Regions from separate parts of the Homo sapiens genome. Here all the other regions are linked to region 6. Evidence: promoter capture Hi-C in 16 types of primary human blood cells and fetal thymus (Javierre and others, 2016). All regions are on one chromosome and are shown on one strand. Each heading gives the region's core, a stretch centred on a gene start or on the middle of the fragment in contact. The rest is flanking DNA. Distances are from core to core; before and after follow the strand shown. Region 1 overlaps MED28 (mediator complex subunit 28). Region 2 has its middle 47 kb from the start of MIR548I2. Region 3 has its middle 6.3 kb from the start of LCORL. Region 4 has its middle 11 kb from the start of LAP3. Region 5 overlaps NCAPG (non-SMC condensin I complex subunit G). Region 6 holds the start of RAB28 (RAB28, member RAS oncogene family). Region 7 overlaps LAP3 (leucine aminopeptidase 3).

Region 1 (3,452 bases), core at 361-2,860, 4.1 Mb before region 6:
CTCTACTAAAAATACAAAAATTAGCTGGGCGTGGTGGAACATGCCTGTAATCCAGCTACTCAAGAGGCTGAGGCAGAAGGATCGCTTGAACCAGGGAGTGAGAGGTTGCAGTGAGCCGAGATCGCGCCACTGCACTCCAGACTGGTGACAGAGTGAGACTCCGTCTCAAAAAAAAAAAAAAACACAAGGCAGAGGCCAAGCGTGGTGGCTCACGCCTGTAATCCCAGCACTTTGGGAGGCTGAGGCAGTAAGACTGCTTGAGCCTAGGAGTTCAAGACCAGCCTGGGCAATACAGCAAGATCCCATCTCCACAAAAAAATAAAAAAACAAAAATTAGCCAAATGTGGTGGCTCACACTGTGGTCCCAGCTACTGGGGGGCTGAAATGGGAGGACTGCTTCAGCCCAGGAGGCAGAGGTTGCAGTGAGCAGAGATCATGCCACTGCACTCCTTTCTTAAAAGGGTGAGAGAGCAAGAACTCTGTCTCCAAAAAAAAAAAAAAAAAAAAAGAGACAATGCAGAGATCCAGCAATCAGCATCATAATTTACAGTTAAAATGGCACATATAAGGCCGGGCACGGTGGCTCACGCCTGTAATCCCGATACTTTGGGAGGCTGAGACAGATGGATCACCAGAGATCAGGAGTTCGACACCAGCCTGGCCAACATGGCGAAACCCCGTCTCTACTAAAAATATAAAATTAGCTGAGTATGGTAGTGCATGCCTGTAGTTCCATCTACGCGGGAGGCTGAGACAAGAGAACTGCCTGAACCCATGAGGTGGTGGTTGCAGTGAGCACTCCAGCCTGGGCGACAAGAGTGAAACTCCATCAAAAAAAAAAAAAAACATGTAAAATATGGTACGAAGAAATCAGAAGCTCTGGTTACCTTTAGGGACAGAACTTGGGGAATAAAAAGAAGCACAAGAGACTTTTCTCTGTAAGACCTATTCCAAAAATAATAAAATTTTTTTAAAAAGCAGTACACACTATTGGTCTTCTTCTTTACCTAGTACGAATACGAAAAGTTCATTATAAATGATTCGTTATGGGTGATATGTCAATTAATAAACTGAACCAAAAATCAGCAGCTCATAGAGATTATGTGCACACATTTTAGTCCCTGAAATGTTGTCTTAGGATAAAAGCAGGACTGAAACACATGAAGTATAAAATTAGCAACTAGGAAATACTGCTGAAGCCCAGAACATTGTGTACACAGAGGGAATGCTTACCGGTTCGAATTTCTTCCTGATCGGTGCCATTGACATAGTCCTGACTCACCAGAGATGCAAAGCAAGCCTGTGTAATCAAAACATAGGAAAGAAAAAAATATCATTTATACATCAAAAATCTTACTCCAGAGGAAGAAATAACTTCTCCTGAAGTCATCTGATGAGGTGGCAGCATCTGTGTTTGCATATGAGATGGCAAGACACCATGCCAATGGAAACATCTGGTAAACTGAGTTTACCAATTAATTAGGCCCATGGAGGAAGCGCCAGGCAAACGAGCCGGCACCACATCTGGTCTCTGTCCTACTACATGCCCCTTCCCTGTATCTTATTCCACACCAGGCCCAGACACTCTTCCAGCCCCACTGTGGCCTCTTGCTGGTGCTTACACAACTCACATCACCACCCATTCAGGACTCAGGACAATCTTCTCCCCCTCAGAGACAGCAGCCGGTCTACCCTTTCTAAACTGTGCCCCTCCTGCTCATGCTCCACACCCAAGCACAGTTTTATTGTTTTTCACATAATTAACTGACATCATATCCATTATTTTCATCCATTATTATCTGTCCCCTACTAGTAGATGAGAATTTTGTCTGTCTTATTCACCACTGTCCTCCTAGTGCCTGGAACACTGCCTTGGCACAAGGGAAGTGTTTAATAACACATATTACTGACTGGATGGCCTAAGAGGACAAGGTTGGTATCACATGGATAATCAAGTCCCAGAGAGAGTTATCTCTAAAGGGCACCTATACAGATGCAAATGTGAATCAGCCAAGGAGCTCTGTGCACAAGCAACTCTAAGGAAATGTACCAAAGCAGGCCCACTGCAGGAAGTGGGCAGGGAGATTGGGGAGGCACAGAAAGAGAACAGCATGGCAGTTGGAAAAGGAGTTAGAAAAGAAGCCTCAAACACAGGAAAGTGGAGCTCTGTCAGCAATCAGCAAACTACACTTGGTGTGAGGCAGACAGATCTGAGCTCAAATTTAGAACATTACCTACATGTGAGGGCCCTTTAACGAGCAAAAATTCTGCCTGCCTGCAGCTCCCGCGCTTGATTTACAGAGAAAGTAAATCAGAAAAACAGATTGCCCATTCTCAGGATTACTTTGAACATTGACTCCTGGCTGGGCACGGTGGCTCACGCCTGTAATCCCAACACTTTTGGGAGGCCCACGCAGGCAGATCACGAAGTCAGGATCCTAACTAGGAAGGCAGATCCACGAAGTCACCATCCTAACTAACACGGTGAAGCCCCATCTCTAATAAAAATACAAAAAATTAGCTGGGCATGGTGGCACGTGCCTGTAGTCCCAGCTACTCGGGAGGCTGAGGCAGGAGAATTGCTTGAACCTGGGAGGCAGAGGTTGCAGTGAGCCAAGACTGCACCACTGCACTCCAGCCTGGGTGACAGGGCGAGAATCTGTCTCAAAAAAAACGAAAGTTGACTCTTGTTGGGTTTGGGATGTGGGTAGGATGTACTTCCTTTGTGAGACCTATGGCTACTGGAAAACATCCCATTAATAGGCCAACCAGTCACAAACTGGCCAAAAAAGTTGGGCCAGCTCCCCTGAGCCAGGAGGCCTACCAGACAGGGTGGCAGGAAATCTCATCTCAAGAATTTTACTGCCCTCCACCCACTCAAGAAAAAAATTTAGGGTCCGACATGGTGGCTGACGCCTGTAAGCAACAATTTTGGAGGCCAAGATGGGTGGATCACTTCAGTCCAGGAGTTCAAGACCAGCATGGGCAACGTGGTGAAACCCTGTCTCTACAAAAACAAAAATTAGTCAGGCGTAGTGGTGCGCACCTGTAGTCCCAGCCACTTGGAAGGCTGAGGCAAGAGGACCACTTGAGCCCAGGAAGTGGAGGTTGCAGTGACCCAACATCGTGCCATTGCACTCTGGCCTGGGTGACAGAGTGAGACTCTGTCTCAAAAAAAAAAAAAAAAGAAAAGAAAAGAAAAAAAAAAGATACACAGGCCTTTATAGACAGTTGGACAGCTGTATTAAGAAGAAAATGTGTGGTAGCTTAGAAAGAGAACATATATTTTTTTTTTGAGATGGAGTCTCACTCTATTGCCCAGGCTAGAGTCAGTGGCACGATCTTGGCTCAATGCAACCTCTGCCTCCCGGGTTTCAGCGATTCTCCTGCCTCAGCCTCCCAAGTAGCTGGGATTAAGGCGTGTGCCACCAGAGACCACTAATTTTTGTATT
Region 2 (3,604 bases), core at 220-2,719, 3.9 Mb after region 6:
AGCGCCTTCTTATACATGATTTCAAAGGGTGAGAACTTAGCCTGATAAGGGGTGCACTTTACTTTAAGTAGGGCTAAAGGAAGGAGACTTACTTAATTTACACTGGTTTTTAAGATCAATATTGTAAGAGTGTTTTTAATGTGTGGTTCATGCGTTCTACTTGCCTGGAGCTCTGAGGTTGATAGGCACAATGGAGTTTCTATTGAATGTTTAACGCCTTACTGACTGACTGAGCTATAGGTGAGGTGAAGGCTGCTCTATTATCAGACTTTATGGCAGCAGGCAGCCTATATTGAGGGATGATTTCATTGAGTAAAAACTTAACTACTGTGTTGGTGGTTTCGTTTTCGGTAGCAAATGCCTTAGTCGATCTGGAGAAGGTGTCTACTAGTACTAGAAGGTATTTGTCCTTAACCTGGTATGGTTTGACTTCTGTAAAGTCAATTTCTTACTTTTTTCTTGACGAGTTTTTTCAGAGACAGTGGCCTGGGCTGGGTTTAGGACTTTGTTTGGCTTTTACGTGGGCGCAGGTTGTGCACTTGAGAGCTGCTTAATCTGTTAGGCTTTGAAGACGGGGGATCTTAAAATGGCTCCGGAGGAGCTGAGGTAGCTTTGCTCTTTTTAAGTGGGTGGTAGACTGTAGGTGGCTGATTAAAGTTTCTTTAAGAGTTCAGGGTGTGAAGATTCTAGAGTCAGGAAGAATCTACTAACTTTCCTGATTTGTATTGGCTCTGAGATCTGAAGCCAGTTTTTTTGTTGTTGTTGAGTATACGGGATTGTCAGGCAGATCTGGCTGTGGAAAGGAGACTGTGGGCAGCAAGTTTAGAGGCGTGACTGAAAGTCTTGCTGCGACCTGAGCTGCTGAATCAGCTTTCTGGTTACTATGGGCTACGGCCGTGTTTTCTTTTTGATGTCCTTTGCAGTGGATCACAGCTAGCTGCTGAGGTGAGTAGCCTGCTTTCCTGGTAGATGGCTTTATGTACATGCACAGTAGCAAAGGCGTACTTGCTGTCAGTGTAAATGTTAATACGTTTACTCTTTATCGGAGAGCCTGAGTGAGGGCGATCAATTCAGCCTTTTGTGCTGAGGTGTTCGCTGGTAAAGCTTGAGCTTACAACACATCTGTCTCCATGGTAACAACTGCACTGGCTTTTCCTACTTCCTGCTTGAGGAAGCTGCTACTTCTGTGAACACGGCGGCATCTGCCTTTTCTAGGGGCACAGCTTGAAGATCAGATTGGCCAGTTTCGATAGTTTCTAACAGTTCTTGACAGTCATGAGCAGGAATAGTGCAGTCTGAGTCGGGAAGTAGTGTAGCTGGATTGAAACACTTTGTGGGAGAGAAAGTCAAACGAGGCTGATCTAACAGTAAACTTTGATACTGTAAGATGCGAGCATTTGACATCTATTTGCCAGAAGCACTTCGTAGTAAGGTCTTTATGGCTTGAAGAGCTGTAAGGGTTAAATTTTGGCTTACAGTTAACTTACCATCTTCTTGGACTAGGCTTGCTGTAGCCGCTATGGCTCGCAGACAACTTGGCCATCTAGAGGCCACAGGATCTAGCCTCTTAGATAAATAGGCCACTGGGCGTCTTTAGGGTCTTAGAGTCTGAGTAAACACGTCTTTAGCAACTCCTTGGCTTTTATGGAGATATTAGGGAGGGCTAAAGCAGGGGCTTCAGTTAATGCTAAATTAACGGGCTATTTCATTCTGTACTTCTTGGATAGCCGCCACTAAGATTTTTGTTTGTCTTTTGAATGCTTTATCAGCGGCCTTTTCAGCTGCCTGTGTTGCTTGTTTTTGTTTTTTTAACCTTGTGATTGTCAAAAGCTTTTTGGGCTATTTCTAAAAGCTGACAGATATTTATTCTAGCAAATCTTTCTAGTTTTTGGAGTTTCTTTTTAATATCCGGGGCTGCCTGAGCCACAAATGCTAAATTAAGAGCACGGCTATTTTCTAGAGCTGCCGGATCAAAAGGGGTGTAAATCCGATAAGCCTCCTGGAGGCGCTCTAAAAACGTTCTTGGTGACTTATCGGGCCTTTGGACAACTTCGGTCATCTTAGACAAGTTTATGGGTTTCTGAGCGGCTCTTTTAATACTCGCGAGGAGATACCGGTGAAAATCGTCTGAAGCTCTCTTTCTACTTGAGGAATTTGGGTACCAGTTGGGCCGGGTAGACGGAAAGACCTCCTCAAGGAGGTCTCTAGCTTCTTCTTCCAGTCTATTGGCTGATGTGAGGAAGTACTTTTTGGCTTCTTTTCGGATACGTTCTTTCTTTTCAGAGGTGAAAAGGGTTAAAAGGAGCTGTTGACAATCATCTTACGTGGGCGGGTGAGTCCGGAGTACGGACTCTATCAGAGAGGTCAAAGCCTGGGGCTTTTCAGAGAAGGGAGGATTATGGGTTTTCTAATTATATAAGACAGAAGAAGAAAAAGGGTCATAAACTAAGAAGGGGGCTGAGCGCTCGTCACCTGGAGGGACTTGTGACTCTCTCAGTGGTAGTAGAGGGGCTACTTCTTCCTGCCGCGGTCGCGATTGAGAGGCAATGGGTGGCGAGCCTACAGGGGACGTCCCCGAGGAGACATGGGATAACATTAAGGGAGCAGGATGGTTGTAAGGCAGTGGGACTGGGTGAGGGAGACTCTCCTCTTCTTCAGAGGGAGGCAGTACGGGGGAAGCCGAACCGGCTGAGGATCGAGGCAAAAACGCGGTCTGGCTCAGGCGGAACTTGGAGGTAGAATTATGAATGGCGCATGAGCGGAGCCATGGAGGGGGCTCCTGACCAAACTTAGCTATTGATCAATGTAGGGAAACTGATCAGGGTAGCTAGGATTTTTAGTAACAACCTGCCACACAGCTTGTGAGGTTCAATGACCCTTCAGGGGGCCACTTGACTTTACACTTTGGCCATTTTATTTTGCAGAGTGTCTGGAGCTTGCCTTTTTTAAGGCGGTCTTTATAATCCTCTGAGAAACTGAAAGGAAAATTCTGCAGCACACATTGGAGAGGGCTTTAAATTTTACAAGGCTGGGAGGAAGTGTTTATTTTTTTTTGAAGGCAATTTAATAAGATTTGAGCATAGATATTAAACTTAGCATGGACAGAGAAACTTATTTCTTGGCGGAATGGAGTATTGAAAGAACAGAATCAACATCACTAGAAAGAGCAGAAAAACTACAACAGCTAATACTACTTGCTACACTACTGTAGCTTTAATATTGAGGGAGGAGGACTAGAGACAGCCTGAGATCTTCTAGGTCAGTTTGATCTAGGCGTTCTTCTTCTTCTTCTTCTAGATCTGTACCTTAAATACTTTTGGTGTCTTTATGACTTAAAGGCAAATAGCTTAAACGTAGCTTTTTCTTTTAAGGGTTTAAGGAGTGAGAGCAGAGCCAAGTCCTGGAGATGCTGAACTTCTTGTCGCACTGGAAAATGAGATGAGTGGGGTAGGGGGCAGGGATGAGGCAGAAAAGGACTACTCAGATCATTTTCAAGATGGGAGAGTAGCCACAGAGGAACAGAGTAAGAATCTAAGCGAAGTAAAGCAGTACGGGCTTACGTTTCTTTACACAGTGTTCTATTTAAGGGCACAGGAAAAGTTAC
Region 3 (3,605 bases), core at 877-3,376, 4.5 Mb before region 6:
ATGAAATATTGGTATTTTGTACTATTTTCATATAAAAATTTTTCTGTATTTTGAAACAGAGAGCCAAATCCTATTGTCAACAGCCTGAGAAACAATTGTCAAGTTCATAAATTGTTAATATTTCTGTCTGCCTAAGGCATGCTAGTAAGTAAAATGATATGCTTTGTTCATATAAGTGTTATGACTTAGTTTGTATCAGGCGTTTCAACATGCAGAAAGGCCAAATGATATTAATTTCTTGGTTTGAAATATAACCTCTGTAAAATGAAATTGTGTGACCACCTTTTGTCACTGTCCTGACATTGGGTGAAAAATAAGTTTGGGTTTACCAGTAGAACTTGAGAATAAGGGTAGATCATGGGTGAAGGAAGCCCTATAATCTTCCATGTTTCTTTCTTTAAAAAATCTCAATTAATTACTCTTTTATTTCAATTCAACAAAAGTCTCTTTGATACCAACTAGGTGTAGAATGCAAGTATACAGAGGTGGTGAATACCAGGCTCTGACTTCACAGTCTACAAGGTTATAGAGAGAAACAATAAGAAATAGTCACAGATAATTATATTACATGAAAAAATGCGGTAAGACTCATGAGAAAAATGAAGTGTTCTAAGAGCATAGAAAGCAGTAATAATCACCACTCAGTTGAGAAGTGTTCTTTATGGGAGTAGAATCGCATGGAATATCAGATGGGGACAGCAAAAACCCCAGTTTGGCTGAATGATAGGTTAAATATTGAGAGACCATAATTTTGTGTGCTACTGAAAATGTCACTATCTATCTTCCCCCAAAGATAGTGACATTATCAGTAGCCACTCCTGAAAATCAGAAAAAAATCCAGCTTCCTCAATTTCTGACTCCTTAATAGGCAGCTTTTCACCTTCTTTCCTGTTCTCCAGTGAAAAGCAGTAGTTAAATTTGGAAAGACAAAGATTAAAATTCTAGTTTCATCAGCAACTAGCTAGATGATGCTAACTTGTTTAAGTTATTTAACATCTCTAAGTCAATTTATATTTCTTTCTCTCTGATATGGGGATAATAATAATGAGAGTACTTAATTGCATAAGATTATGGTAAAAGGTAAATGAATTAATAATGTGTATAAATGCCAAACCACTGATAGCTCTTATTATAGGAAAAAGAGTCAACATTAGGAATCAAGAAATTGATCTTTAGTTTGGATGTGCTACTAATAAGCCCTGTGACTTACATAAATTGCTCATCCTCTCTGGGCCCAATTTCCCTATCTGCAAAATTAGGGGGTTGACCTAGATGATCTGTATTCCCTCTAAACTCTGATAGTCTAGGTACTATAGATGACATTCTTATTTTACTTTGATACTGAACTGTGCAATTGGATTAAATTGGATAAAATTGCCTTCATTGAGCCTTTAATACATTGAAATTTTATTAAAAGGCTGAAAATGAAAGTGACAATAATGCGTTAGGCCAGGGAAGTGATTTCAAGTGGACACAGAAAGAATAGTGGTAGATCAGGTCCTATCATCATGTCTGGATGTAAGAGAAAGTAGATGGTAAATGGTATTAAATTCAGGTGCCAAGCTCAAAGGTGTATGATTTTATGTAAAAAAAAATCAGAAAACATACTCATGCTAATTTTGGTATTAATTATCCTGACAGTTTAGGGCCTGAGTTGTCCTAATATAGTAAAACTTATGTCCAACTATGTGATATTTACTATAAAGACAGTAACAGGATGTAACAGTAATATTTTTAAAGTATCCAGTGATTGAACTCAACAAAGAAAGTAAAGAACAAAAATCTGAGATGCCACTCTGATATGAGTGACAGAATTGGACCAGCTATCATGCCCATTATTATGTATACTAAGGAGTCTTAGAATAGGAAAAAAGGAGACATTATAATCTAAGAAATGAAGTACATTATCACTATATTTCTGTTTTTTCAATCATTATTCCTGTTGTAAAATTTTATCTTTGTTCCTACAAAATGTACAAAAAGTGTTGATAGTATTTGGAAATGCATCAAGAAGACAAAATCATCATATATTTTAGATATCTCTAACTATTTAACTGCAGTATTGAAAATAAATACATTAACATGTATGTATTTCAGTTAATGATGTCTTTAGAGTCTATACTTCCATAAGGGAGAAGACTATTGAGAAATCTTTGACTCATGAGCCTGGATGAATCTAAGATGTTTGCATAAAGTTTAGTATAATATGACTATGTAGTTAATTAGAAATTTTTTGGAAGGGAAGTTTGTTCTATGTCCTAAATAATTGGTTTATCAAATTTTTCTCTGATGTTTTAATCTTAGATCGGTGAACTGTATTACAGGTCAGAACCAAAGGAAATACAGTAAAATGCGATTCTTTACAAGACAGATATAATTTACTCAAAAGATAGTTTCTCAGCATTATAAAGCATTGTACAGTTAATTAAGGTATCTAGTAGTTACGCTTTACAACTGTAAATATCTAATGCATACAAAATTGTTTAGATTTTATTAAATTATAAAATATATCGTTTTTTGGTACATACGGATAATATAGAATTGAGTAGGTATTTTACAATCCTACTAGTATATTGGATTGTTTATATTTGTTACAAAATATAAGAATAGCTTTAATTTTGGGTTAATATCTCAAAAATATGACTCTAGTCATACCCCTCTGTAATTTTGTATTTCTCTATCATGGAAATGTATTTCAAACTACTCCAATGTATTAGTATTTGTTATATCATGTCCTCCTAAAAAGCACCCTAGCTTGCAATTGACTAAGTGGTAAATAAATTAATAAACTGTTATTTGGCCCTGCAATTTATATGTCTTGGTGCTGTCTAAGAACTCTGTAGATGTGCTCATCAGTTTTAGGTGGATAATAGTGAACTTGGATAGTTATTTATGGTAGTTTGAAGTGATGACTCAGATTTGTTCACACCTTTCTGAATCCATGCCATTCGTTAGTGTCCTTATATTCAGACTTTGGGCTTGACCATGAGATTTGCTTTGGCCAATAGGATAGTAGCAAGCAGAACATGATGCAAGCTGACTTGAAAAGCACTTCTACATTAGTACTTATCATTATGTTGCGCTTCACATGCTGCTACTACATAAATTATTGGCTCTAGCTAGTCTCTAGATGGTAAGAGACACATGACTCAGTCATTCTCATTACCCCAGCAAACTGGGAGCCAAACTACACACCAAGAGTGAGGCCATTCTAGATCACGCAGCTTCCAGGACTAGCAATCTCAGGTAAGATGTGCAGAGCTTCACCTGATCAGCAGAACAGCCCACCTGACCTGCAGACTTGTGAATATTATCTACTGGTTGTTCTTTATGCAACTACCCTACGGATTGGCTTGCTGCACAGCAATAAATAACTGGTACAACATATATAGGAAGTAGATAGTAGAACAAAATTATTTTTCCAAAGAACATTAACATTTCATATCATATACCTGTTGTTATATGAAAATCCTTTGTGAGTAACTGGATTTTCAGTGTAGGAGACAATTTTTGATATGACCCTCTTTTTTTTTTTTTTTTTTTTTGAGACGGGGTTTTGCTCTTGTTGTCCAGGCTGGAGTACAATGGTACCGTCTTGGCTCACT
Region 4 (3,421 bases), core at 532-3,031, 4.1 Mb before region 6:
TTTGGGAGGCCAAGGAGGGCGGATCACGAGGTCAGGAGATCGAGACCATCCTGGCTAACACAGTGAAACCCCGTCTCTACTAAAATACAAAAAATTAGCCGGGCGTGGTGGCGGGCGCCTGTAGTCTCAGCTACTCGGGAGGCTGAGGCGGGAGAATGGTGTGAACCTGGGAGGCAGAGCTTGCAGTGAGCTGAGATGGCGCCACTGCACTCCAGCCTGGGTGACAGAGCGAGACTCCGTCTCAAAAAAAAAAGAAAAAAGAAAAGAAAAAGAAAAAGAAATTCTTAAACAGAGGCTTAAGCTTATTGGCTGGAAGAGACAGCCAAAGATGATACCGTGGCTCCACAAAGTTATCAGAGGCTCGGGCTTCTTTCTCTCTGCTCTACCATATTTAGTGTTGAGCAAGTGGCACTATTGCCTATGTGAAAGTAGATAATTCAAACTTAAAGCTGTTTGAATTTTAAATTATTCTGAGCCTTGAGAGGAATGTGGCTATGTGGCCTTAGTCACATGGCATTTAGCTGCATCTTCTGCATTTTTTTCCCTGTAAGTAATTAGGAAGAACAAGCGGGACCAGAGAGAAGACACCCTCAGATCATTATCATTCCTAAGGGGTTAACACAGTAATCTTTCTTGCCATGTAGCAATCTGTAACCAAATCACTGTAACAAATCATTGTAGCAAATCATTATAACATATGTGCTGGTCTTGTATCAAAAATGTAATCCTGCTGAAACTTCTCTGTCTGCCTATGTAAGTGAAACCTTAACTTCTCCACTTTGGAATGCTGACCCTATTCGTTTGGAGTCTGTGTTTCCCAGGTGGCTATCCTCAAGATTTGCATTCAAATAAGCTCTATATTCAGTCATATTTTCTGAATCTCATTATCTACGGTTGACACCTATTATCAGGAGCAGAAGTTCAAGTGCAGTCAAGAATGGGACGGAACAATGATTTACTCACATACAGAAGAGACAGAGCAGAAGCAGTTTCAATAGTCAGAGTTGGTCTCCCATGGCCAATGGGTCCCCCTGCAGCAGACACAGGGCAATTGGCCTCCTTGCACCTCTCTTGTGCTGTAGCAGCATGACCCTTTGACACACACCCCTGCCCCGACTACCTACACCCACCCCCACCACCACAGAGTCTGAAACACTGAGAGCTGGGGAGCGTGTCTGAAGGTCGTTGATGCACACACTGAACACCTTGAGCCTGAAACAGGGAAAGGTTTTCCCGCACAAAGCAACAAGCCTGGCCCAGGCTGTGTGGGCTCTTAGTAAAGACATGTTCCGGGCCCATGGCCAATTCTTATGTGGCCATGTCCACGGAGGAGGGGGTATAAAAAGACTTCATACCTGAGTCTTCCTTTCCCAACGGTCCACCCCTGACCCTCACTTAGCCACTGAAACAGCAGATAAAGCACATCAAATCCAGTAGGATCATTGCCCACCCTAAATCTAGAGGGAGAAATGGGTTTAGTGGTGTGAACCACTGATATGGATGCAGTCTGTTTGTAGAGACTCCTTGTCATTTCGAGGCAGCCCTTCATCAGGGTGACTAGGAGAACCAGACCCATAGGACGATCAGTCCTTGGAGGATGGTCCTCAACCAGGAGCCCCCAAGGGCCAGGATTGAGTGTGCTAAAGAGGTGAAAGAATGAGTCTTGGTGGCACTGCGTGTGCATAGCTGACCAGCACCCCGCTTCAGCAGGAATCTTCTCTAGCTCACTTTCTACCTTGCCTAAATTATTGATTTATACCCAGCAAGAGGTGTTGGCAGTCATGCAAATGCCATCCCATTTTGCCAGCAGATAATTGAGAACTTTCGTTGTCCATCACCACCTTGGCTAGTGAGTTTAATGCATCCCGCTGGTCCTTAATAGCACAGGCAGTAGCATTCGCTATCTCCACACAGTCAATGACAAGATGTGTATCATCTTTATCCAGGACCTGTGTGCCTATACTGTGTATGAGGACATGGGCAGCAGAGTGGAACCAGGCATGTTTGTTTTCCTGGCAAATTGACTCAGGCAACCCTGTGATGTGCCAGAAGTATGTGGCCCTTCCAATTTGGAGTGTCATCTTGCACAAACACTGAAGGACCCCAAATTCTCAAACAACATTCCCCATCTAAGGAGGACAGGCACTCTGCAAGCTACTACACCCCACAGAGGAATATGTAACCCAAGAGAGCACATATTTAACTCTGGCCAAGAAGCAGTTTTTCTAAGAGTCTCTAGTCCAATTGTACAAAATGTGTGTCTGGTTTAACCATGGTTCAGGTGGCAGGATACCACTGGATTGTGGCCAGGCTGGCAGACAGGTTCACCCTAAGGGTGTGGATGGTGCAGCGATGCTGAGTGAGGTTTCCTGGGTTCATGCTACCAGGAGCTAGCCAAGAACTGGATTCCCATGGTAGGCATGTAGGGGTGCCGTGGGCATGGTGGGGCTGCTGTAGGTCTGACTGGCAACTGATTCTGGACTGGGTGCATTATGTTAATGACAAGTTTAAGGAGGGTGATTAATTAAAGCAACCCTCCACAAACCCGTCTGATGTCTGGTGGTGTGGCTCCCACTGATGGCCACTGGGACCCCTGTCACATTTGCAATAGGCCACATGTGAACTATTAATCTGGAGGGATAGGCTCACAATACTCAAGCAGAAGACCTGGCAACGCTTCCAGTCTTTCACTGCTGCTACTGCTGGGATGATCTTCGCTGATACGTTCTCAATCCATGTACTGTGAAGAAACAAGAGGAGGAAAGATCTGGAACAGACTAAGCCCTCAGGATGGACACCAAGAAAAGTCACACTGCAACTTAGGACTTTTCATGTTTCTGAAAACAGCTGGGATGTTTTAGTGAGCATAGAATTAAACCTAACTCTGAAATCTATTTTTAAAAAAGAAAGTCAGGTAGGGTGTGGTGGCTCATGCCTGTAATTCCAGCACTTTGGGAGGCCGAGGCAGGCAGATCACTTGAGGTCAGGAGTTCAAGACCAGCCTGGCAAACATGGTGAAACCCCTGTCTCTACTAAAAATACAAAAATTAGCTGGGCAATGTGGTGTGTGCCTGTAATCCCAGCTCCTTGGGAGGCTGAGGCACGAGAACCGCTTGAACCCGGGAGGCAGAGGTGGCAGCGAGCTGAGATTGTGCCACTGCACTCCAGCTTGGGCGACAGAGTGAAACTGTGTTTCAAAAAATAAAAAAATAAAAATAAAGTCCACCTCTTATTTTATACCTATGGTTAAGGTAAGCTTCGTTCATGGGGTATATTATGTATTCTGTGTATCTGAACCCAGACTGAGGGTGGCACTGTCTGATCAGAACCCACTGATGGCCACTGGGACCCCTGTCACATTTGCAATAGGCCACATGTGAACTATTAATCTGGAGGAATAGGCTCACAATACTCAAGTGGA
Region 5 (3,712 bases), core at 621-3,120, 4.3 Mb before region 6:
TGTAATTTACATATCAGGTCCTTTACAGACATCTTATTTAATCCTCACAATATGAAGTAGCTGCTATATATATATATTTTATCATTTATACTTATCAGATATTTAAGACAGTAATCTTTTCATTATTTTGATTTCTAAAGAACATATCACTTACAAAATAAGAAAGGAGTGGACTAAAATAAAGCCCAAGAGGCCATCAACATACCAAAGATTCGATGATTCCATTCATGGTTGCACTTAAGCCTGTTGAAATGGACATCTGCTTCAACAGTTCATAGCATAAAATAAGACATTTCTGCAATGTTTCAGCATCATTCTAAAATGAAGACAAAATATTCAGCATTAGTAATATCTTCTCCCCATCCTTTAAATGTTTGCTTTCTCAGGGCTTTGTGTAGGGCATACTGTCACTCTATATAGACTCTGTAGGTGATCTTACAGCTATCACACAGATAGTAAATGGTAGAGGCAGGATTTTAAAATTGGCAACTTCAGCCAGGCGCAACGACTCACGCCTGTAATCCTAGCACTTTGGGGGGCCAAGGCAGGTAAATCACTTAAGGTCAGGAATTTAGGACCAGCCTGGTCAACATGGCAAAACTTCATCTCTACTAAAAACACAAAAATTAGTGTGGTGGTGCACACCTGTGGTCCCAGCTACTTGGGAGGCCGAGGCACGAGAATGGCTTGAACACGGGAGGTGGAGGTTGCAGTGAGCTGAGATCATGCCACTGCACTCCAGCCTGGGCAACAGAGGGAGACGTTGTCTCAAAAAAAAAAAAAAAAAAGTCTAATCTTCATCTTGCCTAATTATCACCTCAAAAAAAAAAAAACCTGACAACCTCGTTTATCATCTATGAGCTAGCCCAGCTATTTTCTAAGTTTCAGATTCATATATATAACTGCTAAAAGACATTTCCTCTTGATGTTCCACAGTTTCCTCAAACTCAACATGTCCAAAAGGGAACTCATCATTACACAAATCTCTCCTCTTCCTTGTTCTCTATCTTCATACTGTCATCACCATCTACCCAGTTGTCTAAACCAAAAGACTTAAGATACATTCCTGACTCCCTTTTCTCCGTTACTAATTTCTAAATACCTCTCAAGTTCATCACTACTTTCCAAATCCACTGTCATTATCTTGTTCAGACTACCATCATCTGTAAGTCTCCCAACCCTACTGTAAGTCTCCCAACTATTATGCCTGTCTAAGCTTTTACTACTCTCCAATCCATTTCCTAAACAACAGTGATCTGAGACATAAGACTTACCTAACCACTTAAAATACTAGTGGTTCACCACAATCCTTAGAATACAAAATTTTTAATATTGCTTACGCAAAGCCTTACATGACCTAGCCCTTAATTTTTCCCCAGATTTTTCTCCTGCTTCTCCCCATCAATTCTCTAGTCACATGGACCTGAAGTTTTAAAACATAATAGGCATTCTTTAACTTCTGGACCATCACAGATGTTGCTCCATCTGTCTACAACATTCCTTCCATAATTCATTGAGGAGAGACAGCACAGAGTGAGTTAAAAGCACAAGTCTAGAGCCACTTCTTGGGTTTAAATCCTGCCTCCACCATTTACTATCTGTGTGATTTTGGGCAAGTTACTTGCCCTTTGTAAAATGAAGATAATAATAGTACCAACCTCATAGGCCTATAGGAAGAAAAGAATGAATTCACATTTGTGAAGTAATTAATGCTGTGACTACCACAGAAAAAGTATCCTCTGACTGTTAGATTATATTGTTATTTTTATTCTAATCTCAGGATAAAACATGTCTTCCTCTGGGGAAGCCAACAATACTCTACCAGCACTAGAAACCTCTCCATAAAACCTCTATACTTCCCTGACCATAGCATTTATTATGCTCTGTTGTAGTTGCATTTTAACAGATTTGTAGCCCTCGAACAGGACAAATAGACACATAAATGGTCAAAGCAAGTCAAGTTAAACAGACGATATTAACCATGATAGACTACTTTTGCTAATTTTATAATTTTGACCTAAAGTTTGTCATTTTTCAGATGATATTTTCAGTTTTTGCTTTAAATTTGCTTTCCAAATTTAATAGCCTATAATGGCCCACAGACTTCGTCAAATAAAAGAAGCCACCAGCTATCAAAATAAAATTCAGGCATACACTCTGGGAAGGTGGGTGTTGGAGTTGGGATGTCTATGGCTAAAGAGATCAGAAACATAACTCATGAAACTCTCCTATATAAAAGAGTCTCCTATTTAGCATTCTTTTTATGAGAATAATCAGCACATCCCAAAAGTACAACAATAAATGATGTTCATTACAAAAGGCAAGATCCCAAAAGAAATTAAAGTTAATATCAAATATTAATTGATACCTATCTTATGTTTACATATTTATCATTTGTTGTAAGACAGAATGGTATCGATACCATTAACAAAAAATTTCTTTCAGAAGGAAAGACATACTCCATTTAAGAGAGTACTTTAACAAACTAATTTTTTAAAAAACGAACTACTGAAAAGCAAGCTTTAAATGTTACTAGACATATTTCAGTATTTCATTAAAAATAACAAAGCTGCGTAGCTTTTTCTAAAAACACAAAAGTAATTTAGCTTTAAAAAAATGCACGTTACCATAGAAATTATTTTGCTAGCAATAAAAAAGAAAGGTCATTGATCCTCCACAAATAAGAGGAAAATGGATGTATTTTCCTTTTTTAAACCATTCAAGACAAAAAACAGAAAACTCAGATGTGAACCACTGGAAAGCTAGCTTCCCTGGTAAGAAAGACTTCGGATTCTAGAGATTAGCATGACAAGGAAGCAAATAAAGTCCTACCTCCAATAATTAAAGTTAATTAAGGCCTTTCAAAGTCCAAAAATAGAAACAGGGAAAAACTTTTTTCATTTTAATTCATGTCACTATTACAAAGTGCTCAAAGTAAATATATTTTGGCAATTCTAGAAGTTAGAGAAAATAAGATTTAGTTGAGATGATTAATAACACCTGAGATTTAGTATGAAAAAAGTTACCTGTACCTTCTCTATGTGGACTTCTTTAATTTCAAGTTGCTCTGTCTCTTTCAAAAGGTTTATTCTGGCATCTTCTAATGCTTTTATTTCTTCTTTTAATTCTGATGCCCGATTAAAATCCTGTAAGGTAATGCAATTTTCCAAAGCTTCTTTGGCTTCGATAAGCTTAACTTTTATTTCAGCCATCTAAGGGAAGATATAAATTGTTTCAACACTGAACAAAAACTGTTAATATGAATATCTGTAGCAACTCAGGAGTATTATTTAATATCTCAACTGCCCAGAATTTAATGAGTCAGGCATATGCAAACTTGTAGTTTTCCTGACACAGAGATCTGCATATCTCTGAGACTGACATATGTGGTAACATTTTAAATATTCTTATAGTTTAACAATTAAACAATAATTTGATTATGTGAGAAACATTTCAGAACTGCACAGCAAGAGGAAAGAATAGACTTGCCCAGCTACATTACACTCAAGCACTTCTTTCATTTAAAAGAGACTTACCTTGAGTTCTTTCTTTCTTACATCAGCTGGATCGTTATTAACACCAACAGTAACAATGGGCGCCCGAATCTCTGAGATAATTTCTGTAACCTGTAAGTTCAGAGTACATGCTTTAATATATGTTTGATATATCAGCAAATAGTATCAAAATTCTATATAAAACTCCAAGTAGTATC
Region 6 (3,431 bases), core at 400-2,899:
TGGGGAAAGAATTGGGTACTAATACTTAACTGGGTACCTATAATTGTGGGCCAGCCCTCTCTGCAGATGAAGAGACTGAGGCTCTACATAAGAAACTTGTATAAGGTAAATTGGCTAGAAAGTAGTGACACTTCCAACACGGACCATCATCTAATTATGATGATGATGAGGGTGATAGTTACACTGGTTAATATTGAGTGCTTACTACACACCAGGCATTGTGCTATCTACTTTATGCCGATTATTTCATTTAATTTTCAAACCTACACAAAGGCAGTAGTCTGTTCTACAGGTGAACTAACTGAGGCTCGAGGACACATATCTAGTAAACATGAGATTAAACTCCAGTGATGCCTCTAGGTCTGGGCATTTCTTTACACTGTTCTGCTTTCCTGTTCTAATGCCCATATGGTCTCCAAGACTACTGCCTCTGGGCTAAGCATTTTGTTAACTTAAGATACTTCATCTGCAAAATGGGGATAATTATACTTCATAATTCCTAATAGTAGTAAAGGTAACAATAAATTTTAAGTGATTAACAATGAAACAACCATAGCAGGACAGCATTATTATTTTTGAATTTACCTCACTAAATTGTAAATTTCATTTATGCCGTTTACCTAACGCTCCTGGACTGAGATTATCCAGGGCAGCAGTTCTTAAATTTTTTGGACTCAGGGCCTCTCTATAATGTTAAAGAATTACTGTGACCTCCAAAGAGCTTATGTTTATGTGGGTTACACCTATCACTACTGCATTGAAATGAAAACTGAGAAATGTTTAAAAACAACAAACGCAAGCTCCCTTAGCTGCCAGTGATGACGTCGTACACAAAGCGTATCCTCCAGGAAACGGTATACTAGTGAGAGAAGGAACGTGAGAAAGACAGACAAGGTGTCCGTATTATTATGAAAATTGTTCTGAGGTCATCGGGATTTCCAGAGGTCCCTAGACCACACTTTATGAGAACTGCTGCCTTAGGGTAAAGATGGGGTGCCAGGAGGTTGGCGATCAGTAGCGTCTGATGAACGAACCATGGGAGCCTGGGGTTGTTCAGATGAGGAAACCAAGAGTTAGGCCGAAATAAGCAGCGCCGGAGCTCCACTGTATTCACGGCCGCTACTGAGGCTTCCCAGCAGCCTCGGCCCTTAGCAGCTGTCCCCTCATCCGCCCCGAGGTACCCTCTTCCCTGGTCCGGTTTTTCAGGGGCCCTCTCTGGCGCTCTCCGCCAGGCTACGGGCGTCCCGGGTGCCCGGAGACAGGCCCCGCCCCGCCGCCGGTCCTCGAACTCCTGGCTGCCAGGCAACCCTGGCGCGTAGCCCGGGCGTCACTGCTCCACCCCGTCAGGCTGAACCATTCCCTTCAGAGACTTTCTCAAGAGGGAAGGAGAAAAGGGAATTTGATGGAACGCCTGAAAGCTGCTCTGCTCCCGTTTTCTCTCCTTAATTTGAACGAACACTTCTTTTCTTCTTCTAGCCAACTGTCTCCTGAAGGGAAACGCAGCGCCTCGCCTCTCCCGCCGGAATGTCCCCCACACCAGTCCAGGGCCGCGAGTGGTTCGGCTCGTCAGGCGGGGCCGCCGGTCGGCGCGGGTTGGCTCTGAGGCGGGGGCGCGCGCCCGACGTGCGCGTAGGGGGCGGGGCCGCGCGCAGAGGGCGGGGAGGTGGGCAAGATGGCGCTTGCCGAGTGATTCTCCTCGAATACCTCCTGCCGGCGCGGAGACACCGGGGCGGGGGTCCTGCCGCAACTACCTCCCTTCCTCCTCTCCCCCGCCCCCGGAGCCTTCATCCTTCCCTTCCCCCCCCACCTCGAGGGGCGGGCCTGGTTCCCGGGACACCATGTCGGACTCTGAGGAGGAGAGCCAGGACCGGCAACTGAAAATCGTCGTGCTGGGGGACGGCGCCTCCGGGAAGGTCAGTCCTCGAGCAGGCCCGCCGTCCCAGGCCTGCAGGAACCCCGGCGGTCCCCGGCCTCCTCCCCGCCGCCCGGCGTCGCCTCGTTACCCCGAGCCCTCGGGCTTCTAGGCCCGGGCCCTTCTGGTTGTGTGGCCTGAGGCCGGACACGAAGTGGGCGCTTGGTGAAGGCCGACGAGAGCTGTCCAGCTCCCCCTTAAAAAAGAGTCACTTCCTAACTCCCCGCCTGGATTGCGAACTCCTGCAAGACTCGGGCCAGCCTTTCAGCTTCCCGCCTCTCAGGACTGGCAGGGATTTGCCAAGGCATCTTAGCTCCTCTTACTTGTAGTCTGGGTCACACTTACTCCTCCCCTCCCACCCCCTTTACCGTTTCTGATGCTTCTACTGCATCGTGAGCTCCCAGGAGCGTAGCTCTGGAATCAGTATTCCCCGGGTGAGAATTGGGGCTCTGCCACTTAGTCGTCGGGTCATTGGAGGGCAAATTGCTAATCAGTTTAAGCTTCATCTGTAAGATGGGTATTGAAAAGGGCCGCCGCAAAGGGAGAAATGTGAAAATACATATTAAATGTGAAAATACACATAAAACCTTTAGAGCACAGTGTCCACTCAGTACACTCTAGTTGCTATTTTAATATCATACCTGTTCATCACCTCTGTTTCCAGCTCAGCACTCGATACAAGCAGTCAGTCAACAAGTGTTTATGGAGCTCCTGTTACGGGTAGGATGCTGAGGGTAGAGCTGCTTGCGTGACAAAAGGGATCCCCTGTTCGAATGAATGAATGCGGGCGTGAGAATATCAGGCAGCGTCAGTCTTATTATCTCCTAGGCAGGGGCTCCTACCCCAAGGCTGTGGAACTCCTGAAATGGAGTAAATACTGCCCGGTACGTGCTCTGGGGAGAGGGTCCATAAGATCTCAGAGGGGTCTATGATCCCTCCACCAGCAAATAGTGAAGAGCCTCTACCCGGATGCCTTCTTTCCCATGCTTCTGTCAAAGGCGCCAACACTTTCTGGGAATATTGCTAAAGTTTATCACCCCTGTACTCCCCTTCCTTATCCCAACCATAGTCTAAAGAAACCCAGGCTTTTATTTCCTGTTTAAGGCTTCACATTTCCCTGTTGCTGGTTGCATTTCGGACCCTGGTTTCTCTGGTGACGACTTCTCTTTGCATCCTCCCTGACAGTTGGCACTGCCCAGATACCTGCTTCTGCCTTTGGTTCTGACATTTGAGTTTCGAGGTCACCTGGGAAAGATGTAAAATTTTATATGCAAAATTTGAAGTATTTTTTTGTTTCTTTCTTGTCTTCTTGGATCCTTTGTTACAGATTTTTAAAGCTGAGGAAAACAATATGCTCTGATTACCTTTAAACGTTGGGGGAAGAAAGGAACTTGGGGTAACTTTTCTTTATAAAGTATATTAATTTTTGTATACTTAGTAAACTTTTCGAATGAATGAATTGCTATAAATAAATCATTGTTTCTAACACCTTTATTCAATAAAAAGTTTGTTAGATTTT
Region 7 (3,451 bases), core at 344-2,843, 4.1 Mb before region 6:
AAAAAAAAAAAAATCAAACCAAAAAACCCTATAACCAAGTAATTAAACTGCACACAAATAATTCACCAAAATACAAAGCACGGACACCATAAAAAATACCTGTCAAAGGTAATTCCTTTCCCAACAAACACCAGGGGTGGTTCGTTTGCATTGGGGCTGCCTTTGTAGTGAATTTCCAAGAAGACTGGGGGCTCGTCAGATCCTTTGGCCACACTGAGGAATGATCCCATTGCCTGTTCCTCAATCCAAGACTTGGGTCTATAGGGTAGAAAGAGGGAAAAAGTAAATATACTGTTACCTTTATTTCAAAATAACAGAAAAAGCTCATCACAGTGTGTGAAAAAGTATAATATACAAACTCTTAAAGTATACGCACATTAAGGTTTCAATTATCAGGTCCCATTATTTGCTTTCTGTATATTCTTGGGCAAGTCACTTGATTCTAAGCCTATTTCCTCATCTATAAAATGAGGTCTGTAATTCTTCCATCAAAAGATTATTGAATTACTAAGAGAAGTCATGTGTGGTACCTAATACAATGTCAACTAATAGTCTACAGTCTATATAATTAATTTCCTCTCTCCAATCTACTCAGATATTTCTACAATTTTAATTTAAAGATGAAGTTAGAAGGCCGGGTGCGGTGGCTCATGCCTGTAATCCCAGCACTTTGGAAGGCTGAGGTGAGAGAATTGCTTCAGCTCAGGAGTTTGAAACCAGCCTGGGCAAAAAAGTGAAACTGTCTCTAAAACAAATAAGGTAAGATATAATAAAGATGAAATTAGAGGCCAATGAAGGAGGATCACTTGAGGATAGAAATTTGAGACCAGCCTAGGCAACAAGTTGAGACTTGGTCTCTACAGAAAAAAAAAAAAGAAAAAATTAGCCAGGCATGTTGGTGCCTGCCTATTGTCCTAGCTACTGCAGAGGCTAAGACAAGAGGCTCGCTTGAGCCCTAGAGGTCAAGGCTGCAGTGAGCCACGATCTCGCCACAGCACCCAACCTGGGCAACATAGCAACACCCTGTCTCTTAAAAAAATAAAATTAGCAATAGGCTCTGAGACCACAAAGAGTGCTTAAAGATAGGTAAGGGGTCCATTGCTTTATTTCTAAAAATGAAAAAAAAAAAAAATCAACCAACAGACAGCAAACCAAAGCTATATCCCAATGACTGGAAAAAAAATATCCTATTTATTTGCTTTTTAAGAACTGTTGAATTCTATCTTTTTAATGTTGTCACACACTGTTTCTCACAGTTTCAACTGTTGCTTGAGGCATCTTTAAGTGAGAAAACTAGTTAGTTCTTACTTAATAAACATGGGATCGGTGGGGTAACAGAATGGAAACAGTCCTTAGTTCAAACTAGAAAACTGATGCCATATTGCTCTTCTTTCTAGGCTAGGAGCACAAAAGGGCTTTGTATTGATTTCTGGCCACGGTAACTAGGCCAAGAAAGAAATTCTATCCTCCTGCAGACCAGCAACAACCACAGCCAAGGAATGCTCCTCCGGCATTTGCCATCCACTTGTTAAAATGATTAAACTAGGACTGCATCATGGTGGGATGACCAGCACACTTCAAAGGGAAAAAAATTTTAAATCGGAAGATGAAACAGTTTTAAAAATCACTTCAAAAAAAAAAAAAAAACAACAACAACAAGGCTGTGCAATGTGGGCATTTTAAATCATTAACTCAGTACTTGATGTCTGATTAAAGTCCTGCCCTTGTGGAAGAACTGCCTGTGTTTCTCTGATATACACTGACCTACAATGGAGAGTGCTTAGCGCGGCTATGTCTCAGTTTAACGAGTCATACCCCACCCATGCGTCCTGCCTGGTCTCTGCTGAACTCTTTTCCCTTTGCTCGGCTACAAGTTTTGCAGCTTCCTCACCTGAACTGTCCTGCCCCACTCTCTTGTACTGTAACTTCTAAGCAACCTGCAGGACTCTCCTTAGGCTCCAGTCTTTTTTTGAGACACAGTGTCTCTCTGTCGCCCAGGCTGGAGTGCAGCGGTGCGATCTCAGCTCACTGCAACCTCCATCTCCCAGATTCAAGCAATTCTTGTGCCTCAGCTTCCCGAGTAGCTGGGATCACAGGCACGCACCACCACTCCCAGCTAAGTTTTGTACTTTTAGTAGAGATGGTGTTTCGCCATGTTGGCCAGGCTGGTCTTGAATTCCTGACCTCAAGTGATCCACCTGCCTCAGCCTCCCAAAGTGCTGGGATTACAGTCATGAGCCACCATGCCTGGCCTAGACTCCATATTCTTATTAAAATTTTTATTTTAGAGATGGGTCTTGCTATGTTCCCTAGGCTGGCCTTGAACTTCTGGACTTGACAGACCCTCCTGCCTGCCTCTTGAGTAGCTGCAAATAGAGGTGTGCACAATCGCACCAGCAGCTTCATATTCTTTGGCAGTCCCCCTCATCCCTCTGATCCTGCAGTACCCTCTGCAAATGCCATTTACCTCCCTATTCCTTCTTACAACATCCTCACTTTCTGCAAGGACAAGGACCACTTCATGCATCTTTGTATGATAAATTCCAGGCACACCAGAGGGGCTGTCATAACCACTATTTGGTGACCAAAAAGATACTTTTATAGAACCTAAACATTGCTATAGATTAAACATATACTAACCATTCCAGAAATTTTATCAAGCTCTAAGTACTGTGCTTTCTACAGACTATTAATTTTTCTTCACTCTGTCTAAACCATAGATGCTTTCCTGAAAAACACGAACTCTAATCACAATTAAGTACTAAAGAATTCTTTTAAATGGAAGTACCCTTGGGAAACAACTTTGACAATAAAGAATTCTTTAGGTCAAACAAATACCTGTTCATTTGTTTTAATTATAAATTCCCAAATGCTCAGAGTTGGTTTGCTTAAAGGGCTGGAGATCCCAAGAGAGCGACGGAACTGGACGAGCAGGCTTTCAGCTCCAACAGCCTCCCACTGACACAGCATTCAGGGACACCTGGGAGCACCAATGCTGGAGTCTAGGCTAAGGGAATCTATGAGGCAGAAATTCTCATCCCATGTCTAGTTAGGCATGCTGTGTTCTTCATTTGTGTCCAAAAGTGATGATAGGAATAATTCACCAAAATAAGCCATGTGAAGTTCCTCAAAAAGTTAAACAGAACTACGATTTGATTCAGCAATTCAACTCCTAGGCATATACCAAAAAGAAATAAAAGGTAAAAACAACCAAAGTGTCCATCCCCTGCTGGCTTTAGGGAATGGGAAACAGGGAGTAACTGCTAATGGGTATAGGGTTTCCTTTGGGGGTTATGAAAATGTTCTAAAATTGATTGTGGTCATGGTAGCACAACTCTGTGAATATTCTAAATACCAGGCCGCATGGCGGGGTCATGGCTGTAATCTCAGCACTTTAGGAGGAAAAGGTGAGATTGCTTCAGCCCAGGAGTGTAAGACCAGCCTGGGCAAC

What was found. The method cuts DNA at HindIII sites, captures the fragments that hold promoters and counts their contacts. A CHiCAGO score of 5 or more calls a contact.
Region 1: a fragment that was not itself captured here is called in contact with the fragment with the promoter of RAB28 in region 6 in 8 of 17 cell types (non-activated CD4 T cells, naive CD4 T cells, fetal thymus and 5 more); the score reaches 15.9 in non-activated CD4 T cells.
Region 2: a fragment that was not itself captured here is called in contact with the fragment with the promoter of RAB28 in region 6 in 1 of 17 cell types (fetal thymus); the score reaches 6.1 in fetal thymus.
Region 3: a contact is called between a fragment that was not itself captured here and the fragment with the promoter of RAB28 in region 6, in 7 of 17 cell types (total CD4 T cells, total CD8 T cells, non-activated CD4 T cells and 4 more). The highest score is 21.1, in total CD4 T cells.
Region 4: a contact is called between a fragment that was not itself captured here and the fragment with the promoter of RAB28 in region 6, in 3 of 17 cell types (total CD4 T cells, total CD8 T cells and activated CD4 T cells). The highest score is 9.7, in total CD4 T cells.
Region 5: a contact is called between a fragment that was not itself captured here and the fragment with the promoter of RAB28 in region 6, in 1 of 17 cell types (naive CD8 T cells). The highest score is 8.6, in naive CD8 T cells.
Region 7: a fragment that was not itself captured here is called in contact with the fragment with the promoter of RAB28 in region 6 in 8 of 17 cell types (naive CD8 T cells, total CD4 T cells, activated CD4 T cells and 5 more); the score reaches 12.6 in naive CD8 T cells.

What each region holds. Positions count from the first base shown.
Region 1 is chr4:17,617,749-17,621,200 of GRCh38, reverse strand. It overlaps MED28 (mediator complex subunit 28), which reads right to left. Exons shown (of 4, transcript NM_025205.5): 2 at 1,234-1,300. Among named protein-coding and RNA genes, the nearest start is that of MED28, 4.8 kb to the right of the region's middle. The HindIII fragment of the contact is 5,213 bases long and covers 1-3,452 here.
Region 2 is chr4:9,601,668-9,605,271 of GRCh38, reverse strand. No RefSeq gene overlaps it. Among named protein-coding and RNA genes, the nearest start is that of MIR548I2, 47 kb to the right of the region's middle. RefSeq lists an enhancer at 2,596-3,114. The HindIII fragment of the contact is 726 bases long and covers 1,107-1,832 here.
Region 3 is chr4:18,026,204-18,029,808 of GRCh38, reverse strand. No RefSeq gene overlaps it. Among named protein-coding and RNA genes, the nearest start is that of LCORL, 6.3 kb to the right of the region's middle. The HindIII fragment of the contact is 7,330 bases long and covers 1-3,605 here.
Region 4 is chr4:17,564,612-17,568,032 of GRCh38, reverse strand. No RefSeq gene overlaps it. Among named protein-coding and RNA genes, the nearest start is that of LAP3, 11 kb to the left of the region's middle. The HindIII fragment of the contact is 2,955 bases long and covers 304-3,258 here.
Region 5 is chr4:17,824,882-17,828,593 of GRCh38, reverse strand. NCAPG (non-SMC condensin I complex subunit G) reads right to left here. Exons shown (of 21, transcript NM_022346.5): 10 at 3,537-3,626; 11 at 3,033-3,212; 12 at 206-316. Among named protein-coding and RNA genes, the nearest start is that of NCAPG, 16 kb to the right of the region's middle. The HindIII fragment of the contact is 1,304 bases long and covers 1,219-2,522 here.
Region 6 is chr4:13,482,558-13,485,988 of GRCh38, reverse strand. It overlaps RAB28 (RAB28, member RAS oncogene family), which reads left to right and starts at 1,649. Exons shown (of 7, transcript NM_001017979.3): 1 at 1,649-1,913. The coding sequence starts at 1,839. It overlaps LOC105374495 (a long non-coding RNA gene), which reads right to left and starts at 1,540. Exons shown (of 3, transcript XR_925413.1): 1 at 1,035-1,540. RefSeq lists silencers at 1,188-1,247, 1,210-1,504, 1,498-2,117 and enhancers at 1,388-1,507, 767-1,674, 1,470-1,764. The HindIII fragment of the contact is 2,971 bases long and covers 1-2,414 here.
Region 7 is chr4:17,585,626-17,589,076 of GRCh38, reverse strand. LAP3 (leucine aminopeptidase 3) reads right to left here. Exons shown (of 13, transcript NM_015907.3): 7 at 100-258. It overlaps MED28-DT (MED28 divergent transcript), which reads left to right. Exons shown (of 3, transcript NR_186331.1): 3 at 1,398-2,835. Among named protein-coding and RNA genes, the nearest start is that of LAP3, 10 kb to the right of the region's middle. The HindIII fragment of the contact is 8,649 bases long and covers 1-3,451 here.